Linked DNA regions of Homo sapiens: region 1 is linked to region 2. The links are contacts of gene promoters, found by promoter capture Hi-C in blood cells and fetal thymus (Javierre and others, 2016). All regions are on one chromosome and are shown on one strand. Each heading gives the region's core, a stretch centred on a gene start or on the middle of the fragment in contact. The rest is flanking DNA. Distances are from core to core; before and after follow the strand shown.

What was found. The method cuts DNA at HindIII sites, captures the fragments that hold promoters and counts their contacts. A CHiCAGO score of 5 or more calls a contact.
Region 1: a fragment that was not itself captured here is called in contact with the fragment with the promoter of SMCO4 in region 2 in 2 of 17 cell types (endothelial precursors and megakaryocytes); the score reaches 6.1 in endothelial precursors.

Annotation. Positions count from the first base shown.
Region 1 is chr11:93,294,962-93,299,902 of GRCh38, forward strand. No RefSeq gene overlaps it. Among named protein-coding and RNA genes, the nearest start is that of DEUP1, 33 kb to the right of the region's middle. The HindIII fragment of the contact is 1,097 bases long and covers 2,584-3,680 here.
Region 2 is chr11:93,539,489-93,544,739 of GRCh38, forward strand. SMCO4 (single-pass membrane protein with coiled-coil domains 4) reads right to left here and starts at 3,903. Exons shown (of 3, transcript NM_020179.3): 1 at 3,788-3,903. RefSeq lists silencers at 3,394-3,633, 3,764-3,813, 3,974-4,103. The HindIII fragment of the contact is 4,665 bases long and covers 2,086-5,251 here.

The DNA of each region.
Region 1 (4,941 bases), core at 1,882-4,381, 250 kb before region 2:
TGGAGTGCAGTGGTGTGATCTCGGCTCACTGCAACCTCCGCCTCACAAGTTCAAGTGATTCTCCTGCCTCAGCCTCCCAAGTGGCTTGGGATTACAAGCGCCCAACACTACGCCAGGATAATTTTTGTATTTTTAGTAGAGATGGGGTTTCACCATGTTGGCCAGGCTGGTCTCGAACTGACCTCAAGTGATCTTGCCTGCCTTGGCCTCCCAAAGTGCTGGGATCACAGGCATGAGCCACCACACCCGGCCTGTTTTTGTTTTGTCTGTGTGTGTGTGTGTGTGTGTGTGTGTGTGTGTGTGTGTGTGTGGTCTGGGCTGCCCTGGGGCTGGAAATTTGTTGTAAATCTGACTGGAGAGAGAAAGGGCTTTTATTTTTCTTTCTCTTTTAAGAGAATTGATAGCTGTGTAAGTGAATCACTGATCTGAGGACTTGAGCTTAAGCCTCAATTGGTTTCACCAAGGTCACTGATCAGTTGCAGGGAAGCCAGTTCATGAAATCCCACATTTTGACTTCTCAAGATATTCACTTGACCTTGAAAACATTCTTGTTGATGCCATGTGGGTAGAAAACAAATAAAATATTTGAACAAAATGTTTGCATCAGTGACTCCAAATTGACACAAACTCTAGGTTGTCAGGGATGAGAAAGCTCTCTAAGGCTCATTTTATTTAGTGCCTGCAGGGTTTTGTTATTCTCTGCTAAAGGATGACAAGTAGAATGTTAATCAAAGAACTGACATCCTTCAATTTACTCTTTTCTCACTTTTTACCACATTCCTCTTTCTCCCACAACTCCTATTACCACTCCCACCAGTGCCAAAGAAGTGTAAATGAAAGGTTTCACAGTTTTTACATGAATAATGTGGGGGCAGATACTGTTACTTTCATCAACCACATTACAGCAAAGTCAAATTGTGTGCCCTTTTATGTTAAATTTTGAACTTTTTAACACAAGAAAAAATCATTTTGATAAAGGTTAATGCCTCCTTAATATTTATACACTTGAATCATATTGAAAATGCTTTTAAAATTCTGAAATCTTGAATTAATATGACAATGTGCAAAGACTGTGTGACACCATTTGTAATTCATTAGCTTGTATTTTACAATATATTAGCATCAAATGTGAAATACTCTGTCATGGTCCTGGCAAGCCTGTGAGTTTCATCTTAGTCTGTTGTCTAGAACTTTAAGATTTTGACATGGATGTCCAGAGACAATTCCAAATGATTCTTGCAGATCAGGAATAAGTTAATTTATCTGGAAACTTGCTAGGTATAATTCATTACCTTGAGAAACATGCTTACCTAGCAGCCATCCAGCATATGTTTGTCTAGTTTAGAGCAGATTTTGAACACCAGACTGCCATAATGTGAATGAATTGTGACATGATCCTGGTAAATTGCGGACAGCATCTGCTGTACTGCACCTGGCACGTGTCCTTCTCCCATAGTGAGTCTGCAGATGATTAACGGTCCTTAAAATTCACATTATTTTGAAATAATGCCTGGATAACCCCACATGCATCGTTAACAGCTCCTGGAACAGATGGAAATCTAACAGTGTCATAGATTTCATAAGTTTGTTTTTTGCTGATGTTAAAACCCTCTGGAATATTTATTTTAATGACCTGTTCTTCTGGGAATCTGAAAAGTAATCTCTGACTGACAGACACACACAGTGTCTGAAATGTAGTAATTTAATGGCTAAATTTAGTTTGACTATCCCTTCAACTATTTAAGTCTTAGTTATTAAAAAATTCCCAAATCGTCAGACATCCTTTGACATCATAGAGCATTCAGAGTTCCTCTGAGCTTGAATACTTTTGTAGGGAGCATAGCACAGAGTTTATGTTTAAAAATATTTATAAGGATGTTTCTGGTTTTATTAATAAAGAGAAAGCTGAACTGTCTGAATTTTAGAATTGACGGAGTTGCTTCATGTTTATTATTAATCTCTGTGACTGATCTAGAGCTGTACTATATTTTTGACCCATTGTGTAGTGTGTACACTCAAGTATATGTCTGTGTGTGTGTGCACATGTGTACAGATCTTTATGGGACAAGGCAAACACATTAGTGAAAGCCCAAGCATGGCCTTGTCTTTGTGATCATTATTGTCTGCACAATTCAACTTGGTTTTGCTTCCTCCTTCAAGCATTGACAGACAACTTTGCTCTCAGCCTCATCCTGCCACGCTGCTTCATCGCTCCAGTACCGTGTCAGGAAGTGCTAATTTCTCCCTCCCCATGTATGGTAATAAAACAGTAGCTTTTAGCTAGATACACCGTTGTTCATGCAAAAATTCCATTTTCCAGTCTTCTTGCAGCTACATGTGGTCAAATTACCTCATTTAGAGAATAAGACATAAATGGAATTTCATGGAGTGCATGCACTGTCCCTCTTGGACCCTTTCCATAACCTGCTGCCTGGAACACACCAGCTCAACACCTTGGGCTCCAGCAGCCATCTTGTGCAAATGTTGAGTGAGGTCCACACAGTAAACAAGAAGGAGCCTGGTTCTCTGACAACTAGGGGACCTCACGAGTCTGCCTATCTTTTGTTGTTTCATTTTTCTTGAAGCTTTATTCTGTACACAGATAGTCTCTAGAGCAATATTTTCTAAATGATACGCAGCTTCTTAATGCCTTTCTCTGACTAGATGTAATTGTTCCAGCCTCAAATTACCCAAATGGATTCCTATGTATTCTGAACCTACCTTGGCACTGCTCTTAACACCGGTCATGCTTTTTGATTTTTCTAAGAGAATACAGGGTAGTCTATCCGTATTCTTTCTATGTTTAAACACTATTTATAGGAATTCTAAAAGTTGTAAAATATGCCACATCAGTATTGAGGAAATTTGGTGCAATGAAGTTATCTTACAGATCACTGAACCTGCCCATATCATTTTACAGATGAAAGAAATGGGACTCAGAGGATAAGTGATTTAACCAGTGTCACACCATTGGTTTGGCAGAATTTGGGGTCCTAGGCCTTCTGGTGCTTTTTCGAACATTGTACCATTACTCCACATTGTTCCATATCTCATTTACCACACACTGCCTAGGTCTTCCTCTCATGGCCTGAACTATCATCTCCTTTGAGACTTTGAGGGGCCAGAAAATTCATGCTATAACCTTTTGCCCTTGCACATTAGCCATGTGATCCATATAATGATGAGGCAGTTATAATCAAATTCCAGGAAATATGAAAGTGCCATTGAAAAATGTCAGGAGATTTTAACAGATCCTGTGCTTGATGGGAACAAGTGTTCTTCTTGAATCTTGTACAACAACTCATTTTCATCAAAGAACAAATAATCCTACCACTGCAGTAGTTGAAATGAAAACAGAGAGAGGAAGCCATGATAAAAGAGTGACAATAAGTCCTTGTAGATGGCTGTTAAACATCATCCAGATAATTCTGGTATTCTATTTTTCTATCACAAGGTTTTTCTTTTCTCTTCCTTTTAGTAATCCCTTTTCTGAAGCTGTTCAAACCTCATTAAGTTGTCATGTTGTCATGGTAGCCTCATCTCGAAATGTGAATTAACTATATACTGACCTGAAGGAAAATGATTTTCTTATGAAGTTATATGCCAATACTGCTAGAGAAGAGATATACACTATTTTGAAAACTCTCAGCAATAAAATTCTGTTAATCGTGGTGCTGTAAAGCTTTGAAGTATATCTTTATGTTAATGTTGAGAATATTTTTTAAATTCTAAATGGCTTTTTTCAACTGTAGCAATTTCACTGGAATGCTAGAGTTCTACAGTAGTGACTATCATCCTTTAATTAAGTTGGTTTTCAGAGTTAGGTATACAGGGATATATGTTCTAGTTTGGTGTACCATAAAACATATTTTGGGCTTTTTTCACTTAAGTTCAGAAACGCAAGGGCAGGCCTGTAAAGGATTATTTCCTCTTAGGCCAAGAATGGCAAATGGTTTTCTTCTGAGGACCCAAATCTTATATGCCTAAAACTGGATTCTGGGAAGTATTGAGTCTGTCTCCAGGCTCCAGAGAGAGAGAGTTCTTATCAATTAGTAATGTCTCCCACAGAGAAAAAAAAACAGTGAGGTAGCACCCATGTGGCGCATTTACTCTCACCAAAAGATTGTCCTCATTGTCCCTTTGTTTTCTTTCTTTTTGTTTCAATTTTAAATTTTATAAGACATATATAAATACATATATATCTTTTTGACTATATATATATATAGTCCTCATTGTCCCTTTGTTTTCTTTCTTTTTGTTTCAATTTTAAATTTTATAAGACATATATAAATATATATATATATATCTCTTTTTGACTATATATATATTTTTTATATATATATAGTCATGTGTGTGTGTGTGTCTGTGTGTGTGTGTATGTGCAGGCAAAAATACTCAATTTCTTATAGACCTGGCCTTGCATTTCTGAACATATGTGTGTGTGTGTGTGTGTGTGTGTATACATATGTAGTTAGTCAAATAGTTTTAAAAGGCTTATAATGAAAACCAGTAGTTACCTGATCTACCTTCCCTGCCCCACATTTTCACTCCCAAAGGTAACCATTTTGAAGTTTTTTTTTTTTTTTGAGACAGAGTCTCACTCTGTCACCCAGGCTAGAGTGTAGCGGTGTAATGTCACCTCACTGCAACCTCCACCTCTCAGGTTCAAGTGATCCTCCCACCTCAGCCTCCAGAGTAGCTGGGACCACAGGCATGTGCCACCACACCTGGCTAATTTTTGTATTTTTTTTTTGTAGAGATGGGATTTTGCCATGTTGCCCAGCTTGGTCTCAAACTCCTGAGCTCAAGCATTCCACCCACCTCAGCCTCCCAAAATGCTGGGATTACAGGCGTGCCATGGCACAGAAGTTCTTTGGCTATGCTTTTGGTATTTGTCACTGTACTACTCAGGGTTGTCAGTTGCAAACTACAAAACTGACA
Region 2 (5,251 bases), core at 2,653-5,152:
ATGACATTTCAAAAGCTCACAAAGACGACACTTCTACTTTTTAAAAACTATTTCCTAATTATTATCTTCAGAGAACTAAGAAGTACTTTCACAGACTGAATGTTAATAAAATTCTCAGAGGAAATTCTGGCATCAGTCACAACAAACACCCTCTTGGAATTTAATTTCCTTTCAGCATACAATTTACTATGGAAACTCATTTGTGATGCCACCACAACCAGTCAAAATCTGCCTGGAGCACAAAAACTTCAGAGTCCCAAAAGAGGGCCTTAAAGGACTAGATGGAAATTGGTCCCATATTAAGCCAAATCCTGCATCTAACAGAAATTTCCCCCACACCAAACTAGCTTTGACCGTCAGCCAGCCCACTCCTCTCTCTAGCTGCCCTATACTATAGGCTCTTCCAGGGCCCCCTTCCAGCTAGAACCCCCTGAATTCTGTATCTTTTCCCTGTCCAACAAAATTAATTTAAAAAAAAAAAAAAGGAGGAAGGCCACAAAATGGGCAAAGGGAAACCAGCTACATCCATTTTCAACTTTCTATCAAAGACCTGTCCTTTCTGGCTTACGATTTTTTCAATTCCCTTGGACAAGACAATCACAGGCCCTGGAATATTCATTGCGCGTGCTGGGGCTTAGGGTGGGAAGGCAAAAAGGCTAGAAGAATCATTGATAAGTACAAAAAGTACTTTAAGCCTTTTCCCCCTGAGGACAACTGCTGAAAGACTTACTCAATCCCATTGACCCAAGTACCTGTGTGCAAGGGAAAGGAGTGGATGCCAATCTTTACTCAGCACCCACTGCAATTAGTGGGTACATTTCTTGAATATAAGACAGACAGTATTATCCTGATTTTACACATGTGGAAACCAGGCTCAGAGAGGTCAGGCAGCAGGTTCAGTATTTACACCCAGGCCTGCCAGACTCCCAAGACGCTTGAACTTAACCACTTCACCACACTGCTTCCAGAGTCTACAAGTGTTTATGTTAAAATGTGCTGGGTTAGGGAGCCCGTTAAGAGTTTACTTGTTGCTCTTCACATACAGTATCTCATTTAACTAGCACAACCCTGTAGGATAGCTGAGAATTCCTTTTCCACTGTTAACAAAATGGTACATGGATTGAAAGATCATCAGTAACTTATGCACGACAGCTGTACCAGAGTCGTGCCATCTCTTGGCTTTGTTTTCTCTCCTGTAAAATGATGCTCACTCCTACCTCACAATGCCTGCTCAATGGCAGGGGCTCAAATGGTGACGATTATGATTTTTATCAATACTTCTCAATTAAAGTAAAATTTATACACACACAAACACTAGATATTTTAAAGACTCAACCTAATTAATCAAGCCTTTACTTGTTGGAGAAGATATCATTTTTAACACTACCTCATCTGGTCTGAAAAGGAAAGTAGTTTAAAAAATATTTGGAAAAAATTGTTTAATAATAAAATACCACTACCTCAAACTCAGAGAGAACCACTAACTGCAGCTTCCAAAAAGCTGACAAAAAAGGATTACTGAAAATGATGTGGTCAAACCCAATATGGATTTTGAAAGCTACTAATGGACAAGAACAGGAACATTCAGTTATGACAAAATACACACACAAAAAAAATTCCTCTTCTTCCAGCACCATGGCTTGATCATTAATGTGTGGTGTGACCCTGGCCAAGTCACTTCAATGCTGTGATGGCCCTCAGCACCCAAAATGTCAAGGCCAGCTTATGACCAGGAAGCTCTAGTGAGAAGTTGCCCAGGGGGTCTAGGGGACAGGAGCGGGGTGGAGGGGACACAGATGATTGCCTGGAGCAATTTTTAATGTGCTGCCTCTAACTCACTGCTTGCCTTTTACTACACTCATCTGAAAAGAAATGAGAAGTCTGGGCATGCCAGAGGCAAGAGGAACCAGCTCACCACTTCTCAAGCCAGAATGGAAAAGATGGCAGAAGCATAGTTGTACAAGGACCCCAGCATCAGTCAGACAGAAGGAAACCTATAATATTATGCAATGAGAGACCCTGAGGATGTTCTTCAGACAAACCCCAGCAGGACCAATCCAACTCCAAGCTTGAGCGTCCACTCCAAGCTTGAAGATTAAACAATAAGAAAAAATTCGGGTCCACAGGTGAAATACACACTTTCTAAGCACAATGAGCAACTTTATAGTAGATAGCTGGACAACCAAGTACACTAACTGCAAGCATAAGAACAGTATTCATGTTGTAAATCGAGTACCAACTACTATTAGTTTTTTGTTGTTTTGCTTTTTGCAATATTTCTTCTCATATTTTATTTTAAATCTAAGCTAATTTCTTTATAAGAACAGGCTAAGGCTTATTTTCTGTGGCTGATCCAGCCTTACAAGAAAAAAGATTTCACTGTGTCCCTCAGAAACCTACTCCTGTCTACATCACACTGTCGAGCTCTCTCTTTATACCCCATGTGACAGATAAGAAAACAGAAGTCCAGAGAGAGCAAGTGACTCATCCAAGGTCAAACTTCTTGCTAACACATCTAGGACGAGAATAAGGGCTCAAGAAGCCCACTATGGGTCTCTTGCCGTATCACTGCTGCAAATGACCAGGCATACTGGTGTCTTGAATACAAAGTTTATTTGTAAAGGGGAAAAAAAAAAAGCCAACATGAGTCATCTGCATTGTCAACGGGCTCCACACAGGTTGTTCTAATAAAGCATCCAGCACCTCCAGAACCACTTGTTTCTGAAAGCACCAACCTACGCAGACACTAGCAGGCCATGTCTTCCACCCTTGCCACCCTCGAGGCTGTGAGCAGATGCGCTGTTGGGCTCTGGGGATCTAGAGGTGTCACTTAAAGAGCAAGGGAGCCTGGAGCTTGGCAGTACTGACTGGATGAGTGGATGGGTGGGTGTATGAGGACATGGGAGTGTTTTCTGACAGCTCCCGGAGATAGTTATGATATCATGCAGCCTAATCCCACTCATCTTGGAACACCCCAAACATCTCATCCGCTCAGCTGTCCCTCCTCAACTTCCTCAGGGCAAAAGCACTGCAGTCTGAGGTGAATCTGGCCGCTGGGGAGGGGCGGTAGTCGGCCCCAGCAGCAGAGGAAGCAACGCTCAGCTCCCTCCTCCACCCACCCCGTACAGGAACTCCCCACTGGGTCTTCAGATGCCAGAGGCGTACCCAGCTCGGAGCCTGCCCCGGGTCTCAGGGTCGGTCCCGAAAGAACGGGGGAGGAGGAAGGCTCTATCCCGCCCCCGCCTCACCTCTACTCCCCGACCCCCAGGCGCCGACCCTTCTCACCCGCAAGGTCCGCCGCCGGACTCTTGTCCACTCCCAGAGACCCTGAGCGCACCCCTTTCTCGGCGTCCTCAAAGGACCCGCGTTTCCCACCTTCCCATACGGGGCCCTCCCGGCCGCCCCGGCCCAAGCCCTTTGCACTGCGTCCCCCGGCCCCTGAGTCCGCCCCGCACCCGCACTTCCCGCCCGGCCCCGCGGGCTCGCGGTCCGCCCCAACTTTTCCCAGCCCCCGCCCCGCAGCAACCGGGATGCAGCGTCTCGAGCCGCGACGGGCAGGCGAGCTCGAGTCCCTCGGGCCCCCAACCCCGCCCGCACGAGTTGCGCTCGGGACCCGCCGGGCGCCCAGGCCTGGGTCAGCAGCACTGCGCGGAGGCGGAGCCGGCGTGGCGGGAACCGTACTGTCCCGGCGCCGCACCCCCGCCCGGTGCCCGGTGCCCCGTGCCCCGCGCCCGCCCGCCGGCTCGCCCGCCCCGCCGCCGCCGCCGCCGCGCCGCTCCCAGCCCACCTGCCCGCGGGCGCCGCCGCCGCCGCCGCCACCACTGCCGGGAATACGTGGCAGTGGCCGCCGCCGCTTGCGCTCCCCGCCTCGCCTCTCCTCTCGGCGCCCGCGCGGGCGACTCTGGCGCGCCAGACCGCAGCGCCAGGCGCCCTCTGCCGCCGGGAAGCCGAATCCTCCCGTCCTAACCCTAACTCGCTGGCTGCCCCCGCCCGGGCCTCGGCTCCCGCCCCCTCTTCCCCGTTCCCGGCTCAGACTGTCGCTTCCGAGCGACCTGGGTTCTCGCCCGGCCTGCTGCTGCCGCTGCCTCCAGGAAGTTCGCCCTGACCACCTCTGCAGGCTCAGCGCGCTTCCTCCGGCTCCCGCGCAGCGGGTGCTTAAGTCACCCCCTTGTTGATATATTTCCTGCTTCTTTGAACGCCTCGCCCGTGAGATAGCAGAATCGGAAAGGGGATAGTTGGAGGCAAACGCCATGTCTGTTGTGTTCACCATTCTCTCCTCCAGGGCAAGGTTAGCGCCCTGTCTGGAATACTGAAGTGCGCAATAAATACTTGTGAAGAGAGCAAACGAGTAGATGAATGAGTTGAGACTTTTACCGCTGTCTACCCAAGTAGGCTTTGAAACCTCAAGCGGACAGAGATCCTGACCTGGATTTGTTTTTTGTAACTTACACGTGCATATGTGTGCGCAGCTCAGCATAAATAAATGAGATTCACAATTCCCCACCTCGGACCAGCGCCAAATCCGCAAGAGGCCCACGGCTAAATGTTATTCAGGGCTTTTGGTCAAACACGTTTAGGTTTGAGATCTACCTCTTAAAAGCTGGGCAATCGCGGGAAAGCTCATCTCCCTGGCCCACAGTGAACACGTCTATAAATTAAGAATAATAAAACCTACTTCACAGAGTTGTGAGAATTAATTGAGATGGTGCACTATAAAGTTCTTTACGCAGCCCCGATGTGTGCGGTGGTATGTAAATGGTAGTTATTGTTGTATTACTACTGATGCAGTAGGTGATTTTAAAAACTATCTTCGAAATGTAAAATATTGACTACCTTTTCACCTTAAAACCTTTATATGTGTGGTATTGTCACCTGCTCAGCAAGGCCAGCCCGGGGAGCAAGGCCACTCCTGTAACCTCTTCCCCTCCACCGGTAAAAATATAACAAGTCTTGGGGTTTTTTTGTTCTGTTTTGAAGAATTGTGGAACCCACTCTTCTGCAGGTTTTCCACCTGGATTTCTGTGGCCAATCTCTTAATTAACAAGTTTTTATTTTAGGGATGTCAAAGACAGGGAGCCCTTTGAAAGCACCTGCAGTCTACTGGCTCTTCCTGTTTTCTTCCTGACCCTCTCTCAAACAACTTAAGGCTTTTTTTTTCATTTTTACAGGAAGTGTCCTTCCTGCTGCGTACAAAAGGCAGCAATGCAGTAGAGTGGGATCAGAGGGGATTGGGCTGCATACACCTTGGGCT